Linked DNA regions of Homo sapiens: all the other regions are linked to region 1. Evidence: promoter capture Hi-C in 16 types of primary human blood cells and fetal thymus (Javierre and others, 2016). All regions are on one chromosome and are shown on one strand. The core of a region is centred on a gene start or on the middle of the fragment in contact, and the rest is flanking DNA. Distances in the headings are between cores, read along the strand shown.

Evidence for each region. Contacts are between HindIII fragments. The CHiCAGO score rates a contact against its expected background, and 5 or more counts as called.
Region 2: a contact is called between a fragment that was not itself captured here and the fragment with the promoter of KRTAP3-1 in region 1, in 4 of 17 cell types (total CD4 T cells, total CD8 T cells, naive CD4 T cells and 1 more). The highest score is 6.9, in total CD4 T cells.
Region 3: a contact is called between a fragment that was not itself captured here and the fragment with the promoter of KRTAP3-1 in region 1, in 6 of 17 cell types (non-activated CD4 T cells, total CD8 T cells, naive CD4 T cells and 3 more). The highest score is 6.8, in non-activated CD4 T cells.
Region 4: a fragment that was not itself captured here is called in contact with the fragment with the promoter of KRTAP3-1 in region 1 in 3 of 17 cell types (total CD4 T cells, total CD8 T cells and naive CD4 T cells); the score reaches 5.5 in total CD4 T cells.
Region 5: a fragment that was not itself captured here is called in contact with the fragment with the promoter of KRTAP3-1 in region 1 in 9 of 17 cell types (naive CD8 T cells, total CD4 T cells, naive CD4 T cells and 6 more); the score reaches 9.8 in naive CD8 T cells.
Region 6: a fragment that was not itself captured here is called in contact with the fragment with the promoter of KRTAP3-1 in region 1 in 15 of 17 cell types (naive CD4 T cells, total CD8 T cells, total CD4 T cells and 12 more); the score reaches 14.9 in naive CD4 T cells.

The regions. Positions count from the first base shown.
Region 1 is chr17:41,007,726-41,010,497 of GRCh38, forward strand. KRTAP3-1 (keratin associated protein 3-1) reads right to left here and starts at 1,403. Exons shown (of 1, transcript NM_031958.2): 1 at 796-1,403. The coding sequence starts at 1,349. The coding sequence ends at 1,053. The HindIII fragment of the contact is 1,175 bases long and covers 591-1,765 here.
Region 2 is chr17:41,654,255-41,657,026 of GRCh38, forward strand. It overlaps LOC124904004 (a long non-coding RNA gene), which reads right to left and starts at 880. Exons shown (of 2, transcript XR_007065756.1): 1 at 1-880. RefSeq lists an enhancer at 1-691. The HindIII fragment of the contact is 2,956 bases long and covers 1-2,772 here.
Region 3 is chr17:41,635,375-41,638,146 of GRCh38, forward strand. It overlaps the pseudogene KRT42P. Among named protein-coding and RNA genes, the nearest start is that of KRT17, 12 kb to the left of the region's middle. The HindIII fragment of the contact is 742 bases long and covers 1,036-1,777 here.
Region 4 is chr17:41,606,386-41,609,157 of GRCh38, forward strand. No RefSeq gene overlaps it. Among named protein-coding and RNA genes, the nearest start is that of KRT16, 5.0 kb to the right of the region's middle. The HindIII fragment of the contact is 1,661 bases long and covers 591-2,251 here.
Region 5 is chr17:41,560,788-41,563,559 of GRCh38, forward strand. No RefSeq gene overlaps it. Among named protein-coding and RNA genes, the nearest start is that of LINC00974, 7.7 kb to the left of the region's middle. The HindIII fragment of the contact is 7,476 bases long and covers 1-2,772 here.
Region 6 is chr17:41,538,016-41,540,787 of GRCh38, forward strand. No RefSeq gene overlaps it. Among named protein-coding and RNA genes, the nearest start is that of KRT19, 11 kb to the left of the region's middle. RefSeq lists an enhancer at 1,158-1,778. The HindIII fragment of the contact is 5,266 bases long and covers 1-2,772 here.

The sequences.
Region 1 (2,772 bases), core at 153-2,652:
CACCTAGATTTTTCTAAGATAAATAAGGACATGAATTAGTGGTTATCGTAGTAGTTTTGTTCTAATAGAAACTGTGTGTTTTTGCTCTCAGAATTGTGTGACTATTTCTGGTGTATAGAAAATACTACACTGTAGTCTGATATTTTAAGCATATTTCAATGTCATGATATTATATGTCACTTAGACTAGCAAACTTCTAATCATAGTCATGACTAATGTAAACCAATGTAAGCCCCATTTGAGGAATCAATGAATACTCGATAAATGCTAACATTAATTAAAAATGGATTGTTTTGGAAGACAGCATATATGAAGAAATGGATATATACACTTCTCAAAATTGCTTTGCATTTTGAGCTCAGAATTTCAGATGACTGTGAGGACTAGGATAATCAAATTATTTATACACACCAGCACAGTGATCAATTCATTTAGTCAATTAAGGAAGAAAGAAAAATCAATGTCAGAATCAATGGAAACTAAAATCAAGTATTTTTAAAACATTCTGTTAATCTCTAGACTCTAGCATAGTGCTTGCACAGTGGATGTCTTCCAATAATATCTATTAAATAAATATCTGTTAAATAAAAAGCTTCTATAAAATGAACTACCACATTTTTTACTTTTTAACTTATCACAAATAACCAGTATCTATTTTTTCGATAAATTCCACTATGAGAGCTCTTATTCTGTTGGGGTAAATCTTGGATAGTGTGATAACCTACTGTTCAGGTTTAGGTAGGCATTCCACTTTCCCTAATGGGAGACATGAAAATAAATAATCACAAGGTCATATTTGCTAAGCCAGAATAAAGTTTATTAACAAATGGTCAAAATGGTTATTTCTCAAAGAGTGATGAAATAGCCTAAAAGACAGAAGGGAGGTCTCCAATGGTACCCAAATGTGCAAATAATTAAGAAGATTCATCAAGACTTGGCCCCGGGGATTGGGATGGCCTTAGCCTTGATGTAGGCAGTAGTGAGTGCTGAAGCCCAGATGGTGCAGAGGACATTGGGCAGCCACCTCACGGAACCTGTGCAGACTCGGCTGGTTAACAGCGGGGCTCACAGGGACTCTCACAGCCAGGCTGAACATAGGTGGTCAGGTTGATCCCACTCAGTCCGGGAGTCGGGTGACAGTTGTTGAGCAGCCAGCAAGTTGGCACATAGGTATCAGGCTTGCAGCAGGGTGGGGGGCAGGTGTCACAGCAGATGGGCTGAAGGAGGCTGATCTCATGTGGGCAGGTGCTGGGTAGGCAGACTCCACAGCGGCAGCTTTTATCAAATGAGCAGAAGGTGGTGGCAGGGCCGGTGGGGACGCTGCAGGAGCGGAGAGCACAGCAATACATGGCAATGGGAGGTGGGTTTTTGTTGAGTTGAGAGAAGTCTGTTGGTGTCTCGATGCTCCTCTCTTCTGCTCTGGCTCTTATATACCCATCTCCCTGGGCGTCAGCCTATTACTGAGGGTTTTTCCCCCATGTTTCAGTTTATAGTTATTTCCATAAAAAATGCCTAATTACTTAAGTGTTTATTACCTAAGATACACTGCTCACCTCATAAAAGAGATTTAGGTTGTTTTGTTGTCAAATTAGGACTATTCACATTGCCAGTGTGTCACTACACAGAAATCTTCATTCCAGTCTTCAAAGGTACCGGGCCATTATCTTCTAATCATTATACCCTCACTAATAATGGCTCGGTATGCCAGGCATCTGCAAACGTTTCCCACTTCTTTTGTTTACTTTTCAGATGAAGAGGACAAGTAAGCTTTTTGTTTGCTGTTCTACCAGTGACTACAGGTTCTATGTGATCCTTTAGGCCCTCAGGCTGAAAAAGTGATATAACATTTTAGATTTATTATTTGTGGCTCCAATAAACTGAATGAAGATGAATGGATAGAATCTATAGAGAAATAGATTTTGGTTTTGTGTAAAGAGGCACTTTCAAACAGAGCTATAACAAATCGTTTGTTCTGCATTCCTTTCAAATATGCTCTGAACAATAACTTGGTAAGAACATGCAGGTGGGAATGAAGACCTTCATGGGTGACAAAGATGGGTGTCCTTTAAGCTCCATCCAACTGTGTTATAAATGGAGATTATTTATAACCAAAAGGCTGGTTGTATTGGGCCATTCAGAAGCTAAATGATGCAGTATTTACCAGACTGAGTTCCATGAACACTGGTTCCAAGGGACTTGAAAGTGTTTTCTGGTAAGTAAGTTTGGGAAATGCTGAATTCTTCATTGTTGGGCCTCTCGGAGCCTTTAATGTGCTAAAATGCTCTATGACTTTTCAATACAGAGATATAGCATATATTTTTCTCCAAACTTACTTGACCATGGACTGCTTTTTGTTTGTTTTCAGAGATTAGCTCTATAGGTCAGTGCTTTATGAAACATACTTGGGGAGATTTAGCAACATCTTACAGCAAGCTTGTTCAACCTGTGGCCCAGAAAGGCATTGAATGCAGCACAACACAAATTCATAAACTTTCTTAAAACATTATGAGATTTTTTTGTGATTTTTTTTCTTTTTTTGCTCATCAGCTGTCATTAGTGTTAGTGTATTTTATGTGTGGCCCAAGACAATTCTTCTTTCAATGTGGCCCAGGGAAGCCAAAACATTGAACACCCCTGTCTTACTTCCAGGCTCTGTGGTCCAGAATAGAGACATTTCCGAGTTTCATCTAAACCACTAAAACTCTAAAAATAAAGTTTTAAAAGTAGATAAAGGTAGAAAATTTAGTATGATGATTTAGAATTACTTTAGAA
Region 2 (2,772 bases), core at 180-2,679, 650 kb after region 1:
GCCTGGGTGGGGCACAGCACACCTGGCTCAGCCAAGCCCAGACGCACCCTGCAAGTGAGGAATGCGGACGCCGCCCGGGCTGGCCCTGGGAAAGCTGCTGCCCTCGGCTCCTGCCCAGCCCTGACTCAGCCTAGGTGGGCCAGGGAAGCTGCAGCCTCAGCAGAACCAAGTCTCCCACCCCACCCTCCCCGCTGGCCTGCCTGGGATTGAACCAGGGGACAGGTCCTGGCAGGGGACTGAGAGTAGAGACAGCACCCCCTGGCCTCAGGACTTGGGGGAACAGCAGGGACTCTGTGGGACCTGCCCTTCTCCTGCACTGTCTGGAGGGTGCCAGCACAGCTCTGTCCGGGGGGGCTGCCCACAGCACATTTTCCCAGATGCCTGAGCCTCAGTTTCCTCATCCGTAAAAGGGGGCTAGTGACATTCCTGCCCACAGTGCAGGGCTGCAGTGGTGGAGGAGGTTCCCGGGAAGCATTTGAGAAGCAAACAGACCTCTTCCTAAGAAACAGAAGCGTCTGCCTAACCCCATGAGGCCAGGTGATCCCGTGCTCCATGCAGAAGAAACAGAAGCGTCTGCCCAGCCCCGTGAGGCCGGGTGGTCCCGTGCTCCATGCAGAGCAGGGTGACTCCATCATCCTCTGTCCCTGGCCCCAATACGGTTATTCCAAACTCCCCAGGACAAGGGCTGTGTCTCCCCCTCCGACTAGGCGGTCCCTGAAGGCTCGGGGCATGTCTCCCCTCAGACAAGAGGCTTCCCAGGGACAGAAACTCCATCCTCCTTGCTCCATCGCCCCACAGTCCCATGCCCTGCACTGCGGAAACCACAGGCCAGTGAAGGCCAGAAAAACTGCCCGTCCCCTCCTGGCGCCACCTTACCCCAGCCTCCCCAGGCCCTGACATCCACCTCCTTGCCCACCCAGCCAGCCCCCAAACGCGACGCTGGAGTGCCTCACGGTGCCCACCCAGACCCTGGGGATCAGGAGGCAGAGCCCCCCAGGTCTGGCGCTGGTAGAATCTCCCATCCCTCCCTGCCTGCAAAGAAAGGGCCCACTGGCCTCCCTCCCTGAGCCCTCCCACAGCTGGGCTGGCCAGAGAGAACTTTCTCCCTCTGCTCTCTTTCTCTGCTGTAGTTCAAGCACAGACCCTCTCACCCCAGCCAGCCCTTCTCCACCTTCCGGGCGCACAGTCTTAGGGGTGGAGCAGAGGCTGAGGTTGGGGGCCTCACAGTCAAAGGTGCTGAGACAACAGCCCCGCTGCCCTGTGCTCACTCAGAAGCTCCTGGGGAACTGGAGTGGAGGGGAAGGGTCCCCAAGCCCACAGGTTCTGGCTGCCCCTGCCACGTCCCCTCCCCCAGCCAGGCTTCTCCCAACTGCGGCAGGGCGTCTGGGCTCAGGTTGGGGTGCAGCGTTGGCAGGACAAACAGTCTCCAGTGTTGGGTGTTTGCCTCGGTTACCAAGGAGGGAGGTGAGGGGCCTGGCTCCCTGCCATGTTTGGGCCCCGGGCTGAAGGTGTGGGTGGCAGGGAAGGTGGAGGATTTGAGGTGGGGAGGCTCACTTCCCGCTCCCAGGGCTCGAGGGCAGGGCAAGCCAGCTGGGACTGCCAGATCCCTGGGCGGATTCAGACCTGCATCGGCCCTGCCTTTCTGCTGGCTCTGGGAAACTCAGTCAGGCAGGAGGAGACGCTGGGGGCGGGGCAGCCTCCCTTGCTGCTCAAAGCAGGGCTGTGGGCTGGAGGCTGGGCCCCGGCAAGTCAGGTACTGCCGTGGGTGTCCCAACCTTCCGGGACTGACGGCACCACGGCCTAACTCAGGCCGCCCGGGAGAGAGGCCTAGGAGCCCAGCTCTGGGCCCATGAATTTGGACAAGTCACCGCCCCTCTCTGGGCCCCAGTTTCCCCACCTATATAGTGTCAGGAGCTGGCCTGTGTAGTCCCACAGGGGCCTCCTTTGTTTTGTCCTCCCTGTCATGAGCTGGGCAGGTGGATGCTGAGGGGTTGAGGAGTTGGGCACTGAGCCGGGAGTTGTGACCCGGCCTTGAAGCCCTGGCTGGAAGGGCTCAGTACACATCCAGGCGGCCCTACTGCCCTGTCTGAGGCTGGCATGCAGTGAGTGCCCGGCTGAGTGCAGGAGCCCAGGGCTGTGGTCAGGAATGGCCGGGCCCTTTCTCCCTCTCTCAGCAATGATGAGAGCCACAGCCCAAGGAATCCCCTGCTGCCTCCTGCTCCCAGGTCTCCATCGCAGCCTCAGCATGACCGGCTCTGAGCAGGAAGTAGGGGAAGCAGGACAGAGGCTGGCCTGGCAGTCAGAGAGTGCACAGCCTGGCTCAGGAGGCTGGCAGGTCATCAGGGGCATAGAGCTGGCCCTCGTTGATGGGGCAGGGATGGCTTGGGGAGGGTGGAGACGCCGAGGCTTGAATTAGGGGGTGGGGGGTGCAGGTAGGGAAGAAAGGAAGAGGACTTGAGATTGTGACCAGGCAGTGCCACAAGGAACACAGGAGTGTGGGCCTTCCATGGGGAGGGAGGAAGGTGAGGCCAAAAGATGGCGGGGCAGGGGAAGGGACCACTTGCCTTGCAGCCCGGCCAGAGAGAGCGAGAATGAGCAGTTCCCACACCATGAAGACCTTTGCCCTGGCCCTGCTGGTGGCCCTGCTGTGCACAGAGAGACCCCAAGGTCTATGCTGCCACCAGTGCTTGGTGGCCCCAGCCTGGCACAGGCATGCCTGCCCCGCTGCCACATGCCCCTTCCCTGACAGGGTCTGCGTCTCGGGATATGAGA
Region 3 (2,772 bases), core at 157-2,656, 630 kb after region 1:
GCCAGCGTCATGCCCCGAGGAACGGCCCCTGCAAAAGAGCAGCATGATCCGCAGGCTGGTGGCTGGCACCGCTCCACCCAACAAGGAGATTAGTATCCTAATCTCCGCGGCACTAATGATTTAGGTGCTGCCAGGACACCGGCGTCTGCACCAGGCCTGTCTGAATGTGGAGCTTCCCAGGGCAGCCAGGGCCCGCGGAACAGGAGAGGGGAGAGAAGTGCATGGGTGGCCTGGGCTCTCTGCCCGCATACGGGGACAGGGAGGGAGTTGGGTTTTCCATGTGGCCCAGAGCTCCCAGATGAGACCACACTGCTGGAAAGACTTCCTGCTCAGATAGTGGGTGGTCTCTCACGGAAAGTGCCAGCTGGGGACTGTGCCAGCTGGGAATGGCAGGAGCTATCTGGAAGAGAGCGGTTGAGCCCTGATTTTACTGCTCCCGCCCAGCCTGTGAAGGTGCTGGGCGGGGATGGGGGGAGGTTCAAAACCAAGGCTAGAGAGCAAGGTCAGACCACCATGAGCACGAGGTTAGACATCTGGAAGGACTTCCTGGCAATCCAGGACTGTCTTCGGGGAGGAGAGAGACCCAGTAAAACCCGTGCTCACCTGAGCCGCCAGAGTCAAGACTGCACCAGCAGGCACTCACACACGAAGAGACACGAAACCAAGACCCTCCCCATCCCCATCCTCTCCTAACAACCCCTCCCTTCCCAGGCCCCATCCTCCCCTAGGCCAGCTGGGCTACCCAGGTGGGCCTCACTCTGGGCTCACAAAAGGGACTGCCCCGCCTTCCAGCAGCAAATGTGGGGCAAAGCCAGGGCCCTAGGGAGGGGGCCAGGTCGTGGGGTGCCACCACCCCTCTGCCTCCCCGTAGAGCCCACACCGCCAGTGCTCACCCTGCCTGGGAACCCCACTTCCAGAGTACCCAGACCTTAGTCTTGAGGCCCAATTTGAAGGAGCAGAGAGTTTATTACTCTTCTTTCTGCCTCTAAAATCACCAAGGCCTCCAACCCCCAATACCACCATTTAGCCCCCACAAGCTTCCTCACCCCTGACAGGCTTTGGGCCGCGAGCCTGCTCCTCTTCCTCTCTGGGCCTCAGTTTCCCCACGCCACTGACCCCCCCCCCAGGCCCCTTTGCTACTGCTCGTTAGAGGCTCTACTGCCTGTGAATCCCCCTCTAGCCCCCAACCCAGAGAAGCCTCACATGCTGAGGACAGGCCGGGCCAGCTGGGCCAGCCGGGCAGGAGGGCACAGCTCAGATCTCAGCAGAGATAGAAGTGGGACCCCAGGAAGGCCTCCCTGGCCCTCCAGAGCGTGGGGCCACTCCCTGGCCAGGGCTAGGAAAATGCAAACATTCCTCCTGAGACCCTCACAACAGTGCCTTGAGGACACCAAGACACAGGGTGCTTGAGCAGCGGGCAGTCGGGCAACCCAATGTTGGCATCAGAGCCGGGCCTGAAGCCAGGGCCTCGGCAGCTCCCACTCTCCCAGCCAGGGAGGAAGGCTTGACAGGGGCCGGCTGGAGGGCCACACAGAGGTCCTCTGGGCTGTGGCACATCCTGTCTGGGCCTGTCCTCCACCCCCAGCAGGGAGAGATCCCTGGCACCCGCAAGGGGCAGCCCAGGCCTGCAGCCCCGGCAGCGGCAGCAGCTTGGCCCCCATGGAAGACAAAGGGGTAAAGAAGGAGAGGTCCAATGGCTCTTCCAGCCCCAGAGGCTGCTGGAGCCCAGCGCAGGTGGGAGAGGGGGAGGCCCAGGGAGGTGGCTGGGAGAACTTGAAGCTTCCCCCAGTGCCCTGGGTGCCAGCCCCACCTTGACTCCCCCTCAGTCTCCTCTGCAGAGAGTGCAGAAAAGCCAGCATGCTGGAGAGCGCAGCACAGACAGGACCTGCCTGGAATTTGAGCAGAGCTAGGGTTTGGGGACAGTGTCCCCTAATATCACCCCTACTATGTTGTGGGGAGGCAGAGGGCGTAGAATGATCTGGGGCCCTATGGAAAGGAGATGTTCAATAGATGCATTTTTTTTTACTTTAAATAGAGATGGGGTCTCACTATATTACCCAGGCTGGTCTCAGGCTCCTGGGCTCAAGCAGTCCTCCTGCCTCTGCCTCCCAAAGTGCTGGGATTATAGGAGTGAGTCACCACGCCCAGCCAATAGATGCATATTGATATTGACAAGGTTGACAAGGTCTGGACAGGATCAGTGGCTCACACCTGTAATCCCAACACTTTGGGAGGCCGAGGCAGGCAGATCACTTGAGGTCAGGAATTTGAGACCAGCCTGGCCAACATGGTGAAACCCCGACTCTACTGAAAATACAAAAATAAGCCAGGCGTGGTAGTACCTGTAATCCCAGGTAGTCAGGAGGCTGAGGCAGGAGAATCGCTTGAACCCGGGAGGTGGAGGTTGCAGTGAGCTGAGATCGTCCCACAGCCCTCCAGCCTGGGCAACAGAGCGAGGCTCCATCTCAAAAAAACAAAAGAAAAAACAAAAAGACAAGGTCATGCCCCGTCTGCCCAGCTGGCCTTGGCTCCTACGAGCCCCCGCAAGGATTAACTGTCAACCCTTAGGATGGTGCCCACCCCATACCCCACACCCCTGCCCAGAACCAGCGCGGGCTGTATGCAGCAGGTGCTCTGTGAGTGCTTGCTGAATTGTTAGGGTCATGGAGCCTGAGCAGTGACTGGGGAGGAGACAAGGTCCCAGGAAAGGGACATGGCCACCTACCCTTCCCCTCAAGGAAAAGGGTCAGTATCAGGTGGTCAGGGAAAGTG
Region 4 (2,772 bases), core at 171-2,670, 600 kb after region 1:
TCTCACTCTGTTGCCCAGGCTAGAATGCGATGGTGTGATCTCAGCTCACTGCAGCCTCGACTTCCCAGTCTCAAGTGATCCGCCCACCTCAGATTCCCTAGCAGCTGGGACTACAGGCACAAGCCACCACATCCAGCTAATTTTTGTATGTTTTGTAGAGACAGGGTCTCACTATGTTGCCCAGGCTGGTCTCGAACTCCTGGGCTCAAGCAATCCAACCACCTTGGCCTCCAAAACTGCTGGGATTACAGGCATGAGTTGCTGTGCCCGGCCAAATACAGCAGATTTTTTAAAACTCTGAATAATGGAGTTAGAGGTCAAAGTTAAAGAATTTCTCAGAAAACAGCAACAACAACAACAAAGAAAAGACAAGATGGAAAATAAAACAGAATACCCAGGAAAAAGAGCCATTTCAGAAAGAGAGAAAATGGAGGGAGGAAATCATGAAACACGAAAATTTGCCAGAATTGAACAACATGAGCTCCCACATTAGAAGTTTCTGCTAGAGTCCAGCCGGTGGATGAAGTTACAGCTGCATCAATTCAACACATGGTATTTCAGCCTGCTGGAGAGAAAGAGAAGAACTGAAAAGCTTCTAGGGAGGAGAGTGGGAACAGGATAATAAGAAATGATCTCGAGTCAACGTGGCATAAGACTTCTCAACAGCAACACCAGAAGCCAAGAAACAGTGAAACTGTACCTTCAGACGCTGAGTGCAAATGATTTCCAAGCTAGAATTCTATACCCAGCCAAACTATCAGTCAAGAGTGAAGATAAACTGAAGATCTTTTTGACACAAATGGTCTCAAAAAATTTAACCCCGATAACTCCCTTTCCAGGAAACTACTTGAGGATGTGCTTCACTAAAACAAAGGGAAAAATAAAAACAGGAAGGAGGAAGACATTGGATCCAGAAAACAAGGAATGCAACACAGGAAAAAGAAGGAATTTCAGGATGATGGTGAAGAGAGATTCCAGGATCACAGCTGAGCAGAAGACCCAGACAGCACCCAGAACAGACAAGAGCAGGACAGAAGGCCCTAGGAGACACATCTTCATGAGGATGAAATTGATAGAACACCCAGGGTTCTAAAATACTGAGGAGATTTATACTTCCAGCAGTGAATCAGGAAACAAATTAATGATCAATACATAGAAAGTTTAGGCAAATTGAAAAGGAGATATTTATTCCAAGGAAATTTAATATAGCATAAAATGTAACATAGTATAATATATGGTTTGACTATGAATAACATTTAAATAGTCTTAATAATGTAAACATTTATCTAACAAAAATATGAATATATTGAGAAGGTGGGAAGAAGATATTTAAAAAAGAAGTGGGCAGGCACAATGCTGTATAACAGATCTACATCCTCATCCTTCACAGCCAGAAGTCAAGCGATTAAAAACTGAAACACAAAAATCAAACAGTAACAAGGTAAAGCCTGTTATTTAGAAGTAAGGAGACAAATCCCAAAAGAAACAGCTGAAGTTGAAAGGGGGAGGCGGGAACAGAGCTGTGATATCCAGTCTGGGGATGGCTTTTTCATTAAAAAAAAAAAAAAGAAGAAAGAAAGTCTTATTCACAATAGCAAAGACTTGGAACCAACCCAAATGTCCATCAATGATAGACTGGATTAAGAAAATGTGGCACATATACACATTGGAATACTATGCAGCCATAAAAAAGGGTGAGTTCATGTCCTTTGCAGGGACATGGATGAAGCTGGAAACCATCATTCTAAGCAAACTATCACAAGGACAGAAACCCAAACATCACATGTTCTCACTCATAGGTGGGAGTTGAACAATGAGAACACATGGGCACAGGGTGGGGAACATCACACATCGGGGCCTGTCGGGGGTGGGGGGCTGTGGGGGGATAGCATTAGGAGAAATACCTAATGTAAATGATGAGTTGATGGGTGCAGCAAACCAACATGGCACTTGTATACCTATGTAACAAACCTGCACATTGTGCACATGTACCCTAGAACTTAAAGAATAAAAAAAAAAAAAAAAAAAGTCTTGGCTGGGCGCCATGGCTCACGCCTGTAATCCCAACACTTTGGGAGGCCAAGACAGGCAGATCACGAGGTCAGGAGATCGAGACCATCCTGGCTAATAAGGTGAAACCCTGTCTCTACTAAAAATACAAAAAACAATTAGCCAGGCATGGTGGCAGGTGACTGTAGTCTCAGCTACTCAGGAGGCTGAGGCAGAAGAATGGCATGAACCCTTGAGGTGAAGCTTGCAGTGAACCGAGATCACGCCACTGCACTCCAGCCTGGGCGACAGAGCAAGACTCCGTCTAAAAAAAAAAAAGTCTTATGATGTTGTACATACATAACATTTTTTTAATTTAAATAGTTAAAACATGGAAGGCATCCAGGAAGAAGGAACGGCAACTGAGAGGTATGGGCCATATCTCAGTCAGGTAGGGGTGACTCAGGGGTTTGGAGCTGGGAGGGGCAGGAGGACACCAAGCTGAGTTGAGACTGAAGGCTGAGTGCTGCAGGGGAATGGGATCCATCGCAGGCTGTTAAGCAGGGGGGTCCTGATCTCACCCTTGTTCTTGATCTTGACCACATTCTGGTGGAAATCATTCAGTGGAAATTTAATGTGGATGAGATTGACTCTCAAAGGGGACCCAGTTAGGCTGTGCCCAGGTCTAGGGAGAGAGGAAGAAGATCTAAACATGGCAATGGCCATGGGGCAGCAGGTGTTTCCTAGGGTGCTCATCAGCACGCAATTCACCAGCTGATGGAA
Region 5 (2,772 bases), core at 79-2,578, 550 kb after region 1:
GAGTTTTAGCCCAAGTTTGCTTCTCATGAGCCCAGTGGTATCCCAGACCAATCCTGTGGTTATTTCCCAGTGTCTGGAGTGGACTAGACATAGTCAGTAAAAGGATCCTGATCCTTACCAGTAAGGATTACGTGGTTTAGAAAAAGGACCAGCAACACTACATCTCTAAGGGAATGACAGAGATTAGTGCCACATGAAAGATTTGATGGGCCAGGAGTGGTGGCTCATGCCTGTAATCCCTGCACTTTGGAAGGGCAAGATGGGGAGAGAACACAGGAATGTAAGATCAGCCCTGGCAATAGAGTGAGATCCCTGTCTCTAGTTTAAAAAAAAAAAAAAAAAAAAAAAAAACCTCAAAAATTAGTCTGGCGTGGTGGCACACGCTTGTAGTCCCAGCTACTTGGGAGCCTGAGGTAGGAGGATTGCTTGAACCTGGGAGGTCAAGGCTTCAGTGAACTGTGATTGTACCACTGCCCACCGGCCTGGGCAACAGAGAGAGACCCTGTCTCAAAAAAAAAATGATAAATTTAGGGTTAACTTGCCTAGTTTTTCTGTGCAGAACATGAACAGATGTTAGAGAATAGCCATGAATTATTTTACAATTTATCACATGGTTGTTCCAACAGCAGTCGTTGATCCAGATTGTGTCCCTTTTCTAAAGCAGATCACCATTGACCCTGGCACCTGCTGTGGGAAATTCTTTTTTCTTTATCCCAATAAACAAAGAGTACCAGAATAAATATGCTTTCACCTGCAGAGAAAGCAACACGGTCATTCCCCTTATCCATGGTTTCGCTTTCCACAGCTTCAGTTACCTGTGGTCAACTGTCATCCAAAAATATTAAATGGAAAATTCCAGAAATAAACAATTTGTCAGTTTTGAAGTGTGCTGCCCTGAAGAGCATGATGAAATCTCACACTGCCCCACTCTGTCCAGCCCAGGACAGGAATCATCCCTTTGTCCAGCTCTCCATGCTCTATGCACCACCCACCCACTAGTCGTCGCTTAGTAGCTGTCTCAGTTGTCAGATCAACTGTTGCAGTATTGCCGTGCTTGTGTTCCCTTATTTTACTTAATTACGACCCCAAAGTGCAAGAGCAGTGATGCTGATAATTCAGATTTGCCAAAGGGAAGCCACAAAGTGCTTTTTTTTTTTTCTTAAAAGGAGTTTTGCTCTTGTTTCCCAGGCTGGAGCACAATGGCGTGATCTCGGTTTACCTCAACCTCTGCCTCCCGGGTTCAAGCGATTCTCCTGCCTCAGCCTCCCAAGTACCTGAGATTACAGGCATGCGCCACCATGCCTGGCTAATTTTGTATTTTTGGAAGAGACAGTGTTTCTCCATACTGGTCAGGCTGGTCTCAAACTCCTGACCTCAGGTGATCCTCCAGCCTTGGCCTCCCAAAGTGCTGGGATCACAGGCATGAGCCACCGCGCCCAGCCAGCAAAATGCTTTCTTTAAGAGAAAAGATGACAGTTCAAAACTTACTACGGAAAGAAAAAAACCATACGCTGAGGTTGCTAAGATCTACAGTATGATAAGATATTTTGAAAGAGAGAGACCACATTCAAATAATTTTTATTACAGTATATTGTTATAACGATTCTATTTTATTAGTTATTGTTGTTAATCTCTTGGTCTGCCTAATTTATAAAGTAAACTGTATCTTAAGTATGAATGTGTAGGAAAAAGCATAGTGTAGATAGATTTAGGTGCTATCCACAGTTTTGGGCATCCAGTCAGGATCTTTGAATGTATTCCCTGTGAAATAATGAGCAACTACTGGGCATCTTTTCCAGGATGTGCAGAGAATCAAACTTGGAGGGTATGCAAACAGAAAAATTCCCCAAATCACACTCAAGGATTGCTCTAGGAACACACCACTGCTGTCACTTCTGGCCACCAAAATTGAAGCTCAAACTATGGATGATGGGCACTGCATGTCTTTGCCAGAGCCGCTGCTATTGCTTCCTCAAAAAATCACATATCTCTGCCCAACCTTGTTCCTGCCATAAAAAATTCCACTCAGCACCTCCTTTAAATCAAAATCAAAGTCCTTCACTCCAATGGGGTGCCATGGTTAAAAAAAAAAAAAAAACGTCTTGTGCGGGCGCACCTGAGTGGCAGGGCTGTCAGGGGCCCATGCCCTAGATGCAGGTGAGCTCGGAAAAGCAAGTTTCTGACCTCTCCCTTGGGGAGCTTCACACTTAAGGTGGAGAATTTCCCAAATTGAGGTAGAGAAAAGATACATAAAATGGGCCAGGCCTTGTGGCTCACACCTGTAATCCCAGCACTTTGGGAGGCCGAGGCAAGTGGATCACCTGAGATCAAGAGTTCAAGACCAGTCTGGCCAACATGGTGAAACCCCCGTCTTTACTAAAAATACAAAAATTAGCTCAGCGTGGTGGCAGGTGCCTGTAGTTCCAGCTACTCAGGAGACTGAGGCAGAAAATCGCTTGAACCCGGGAGGTAGAGGTTGGATTGAGCTGAGATCGTGCCACTGCATTTCAGCCTGGACGACAGAGTGAGACTCCGTCTCAAAAAATAATAATAATAATAAATAAAATAAATAAAAAGATATGTAAAATGGTAGATGAGGAAGACAGCAGGTAGCAGAAAAAGAACCAGAGAAGAGTAAACAGTTGCATATTAACAGCGGAGCGCTAGAAAAGAGATCACAGACTCTCACTGCTCAGGTGTCTTGCTAGAGCCACCTTTGACCCAGAGACACTGATGACCTGCCTGCTCCCATATCCACAAATTCCAGGATCT
Region 6 (2,772 bases), core at 155-2,654, 530 kb after region 1:
TCCACCTCCAGGAAAGGAATCACACCGGGGCCCTCCTAGATCTGTGTTGGAACGCGTCCTGGCAGAATTAGGTTCTACTAACCAAGCAATGACTGTACCCCGATCTCTGCCAGCGCTGATGCCTGCTGAGGGAGGGGAAGGACAAGGGCTGTGTCCACCTGGGCCCTGCCTTCACAGACGGAGCCCACAGTTAGGGGTTGGTATGAAAGAGGCGACTTTCTTTTTTTTTTTTTTTTTTTTCTTTTTTTTTTTTGAGACAGAGTCTTACTCCATCACCCAAGCTGGAATGCAGTGGCGCAATCTTGGCTCAGTGCAACTTCTGCCTCTTGGGTTCAAGTGATTCTCCTGCCTCAGCCTCCTGAATAGCTGGGATTACAGGTGCCTGCCATCACACCTGGCTAATTTTTATATTGTTAGTAGAGGCAGCGTTTCACCATGTTGGCCAGGCTGGTCTCAAACTCCTGACCTCAAGTGATCCACCCACCTCAGCCTTCCAAACTGCTGGGATTACTGGCGTGAGCCACTGCGCCCAGCCAAGAGACAGATGATTTCTAATGAAGATCTGTGTTTTCTACATTTTCAAAAAAGCAGCAGTGAGCATGTCTCACCTCTAGCATGGGTTGAGGGGAGTGCTTATTATTTTCAATTCTGACTCATTCCAGGCTCCACTGGCTTTAGGCTGGCAAGCGGGGCCTTGCAGACTTGGGGGAGGGGTGGTCAGGTTAGTGAGTTTCTGGACCAGGTGAGCAGGGGGTTGGGGCAGAAGGGGCATTCCTAACAGCAGCTGGAAGGAGCTTCAGAGCTGCTCTGGAGACAGGATGCTGAGGCCCTGCTCATCCCGGCTCCAACCGGCTGCAGGATAAACATTCATCAGGCAGAAACCACAGAGAATCACATAGCGAGATGGGCTGCCAGGAGCTGGGAATACCAGGAATGCCCAGGCCTGGGGACTAAGGGGGAGATGAGGGAGAACGGGGGAGATCCCCTTTGCCCCAAGGAAGAGCAGCTGACGCCTGATCCCATGAGAGGGGCCTGGTATCTGAAGCGCTTTTTGAAGTCAGTTGAAAAGGAACACTATCCCACCTCAAAGACACACACACAGAGTATTAACAGAAGACAAAGCCTCACCGGCTCCCTTAGGCATCTCACGTGCATTCCAGGCAGGAACTACCCAGTGCCAGCATCAGCCCTCAGCAGGCTGCCCAATTACCAGCCCAAGGCCTACCAGCCGTGCCAGCACCAGGGAGGCACGGGGGATGCACCAAGGAACCACAGTGCCAGGAAGCATCTTCTGCCCTCCCCTGGCTCAGTCCTGCCAAGACCCTTCCCCCTCCAGTGGAATGTGCTGGAGTTGGAGAGGAAAGTGCTTCCTCCAAAGTCCTTGCCTGGGATTAGGGCTGGAGCCTGTGGGGATGAGAAGATCCACCAGAGATATCTGTCCTCGCTGAGTAAACATACAATGAGGACCTGGTACACAGAAACCGAACAAACACATCCCAACAGGGATATCCATGTCTGGGGCTTCAGAAGAAAGGGCTGGAGCATGGGGAGAAGAGAGGAGGCTTCACGAACCCCAAGTTTCCCATTCCTGCCATGTCCATGTTACCTCATCCTTATCCTCACCTTGACTGCTAAGAAACATAGTAAGCATCTTCTTGGCCGTGCACAGTGGCTCACACCTGTAATCCCAGCACTTTGGGAGGCCAAGGCAGGTGGATCACCTGAGGTCGGGAGTTCAAGACCAGCCTGACCAACATGGCGAAACCCCATCTCTACTAAAACTACAAAAATTAGCTGGGCATGGTGGTGAGTGCCTGTAATCCCAGCTACTAGGGAGGCTGAGGCAGGAAGAATTGCTTGAGCCTGGGAAGCAGAGCTTGCAGTGAGCCGAGATAGAGCCACTGCACTCCAGCCTGGGCAACAGAGCAAGACTCTGTCTCAAAAAAAAAAAGAAAAAGAAAAAGAAACATAATAAGCATCTAAAAGCCCAGCAAGATGATTTAGACAAAACTCCTACACTTGTAGGATGGGGGCATAGAAATCTTCTAGCCCAGAGATCTTCAAGCCTCGCCTGCTAAGCCCTAAGCAGAGAGGTGGGAGCTGAGCGGATCTGCTGTGACCACCCACACTCACACACACTTACACACCTCACACAGTATTCACACCTACTCACACATGCACACACATGCATACACATGCTCACACATACACTCACACACTCCCAGGCCTTCTCACACATGCATTCACACTGGTTTTATATACTCAGCTTTCTGTGAGATTTTGCTTCAGCAAAGATTCTCCCTCTTTTAAAGCCCAAACACGTGCTTCAGCCTACCTCCAGCAGTTTATATAGGTCAGAAAACTGAGAGAGAGTGGGGCCTCAGCCTGCCTAAAGTCCCACAGCTGGTGTCCTGCTCAGCAGAAACCAGCAGGCAGGTGCCCTGGAGCCAGGATGTCTGTCCCCAGGGGACGACCTGAGCTCGGGGAAGAGAAAGAGGTAAACACTGTAGGCTCCTGACAAAGGCAGGAGGCAGGCCAGGGTCAGAGGAGGGACATAGACCCGGGGCTGCTGGAGCTCAGATGGAGGGCACCCTGAGTGAGGGATCAAGGCCTGGGTAAGCAGGGAGGGCGCCCTGGAGGAGGGGGCCCTTCACAGCCCCAGGGTGAGCCACAGTAAATGGTGCCTAGAGTAAGGACATGGAGGTGGCGGATAGTGGGAAGTTCCAGTAAAAAAGAAATCTTATAAAAACAGGCTAAATGTATTGGCCTCTT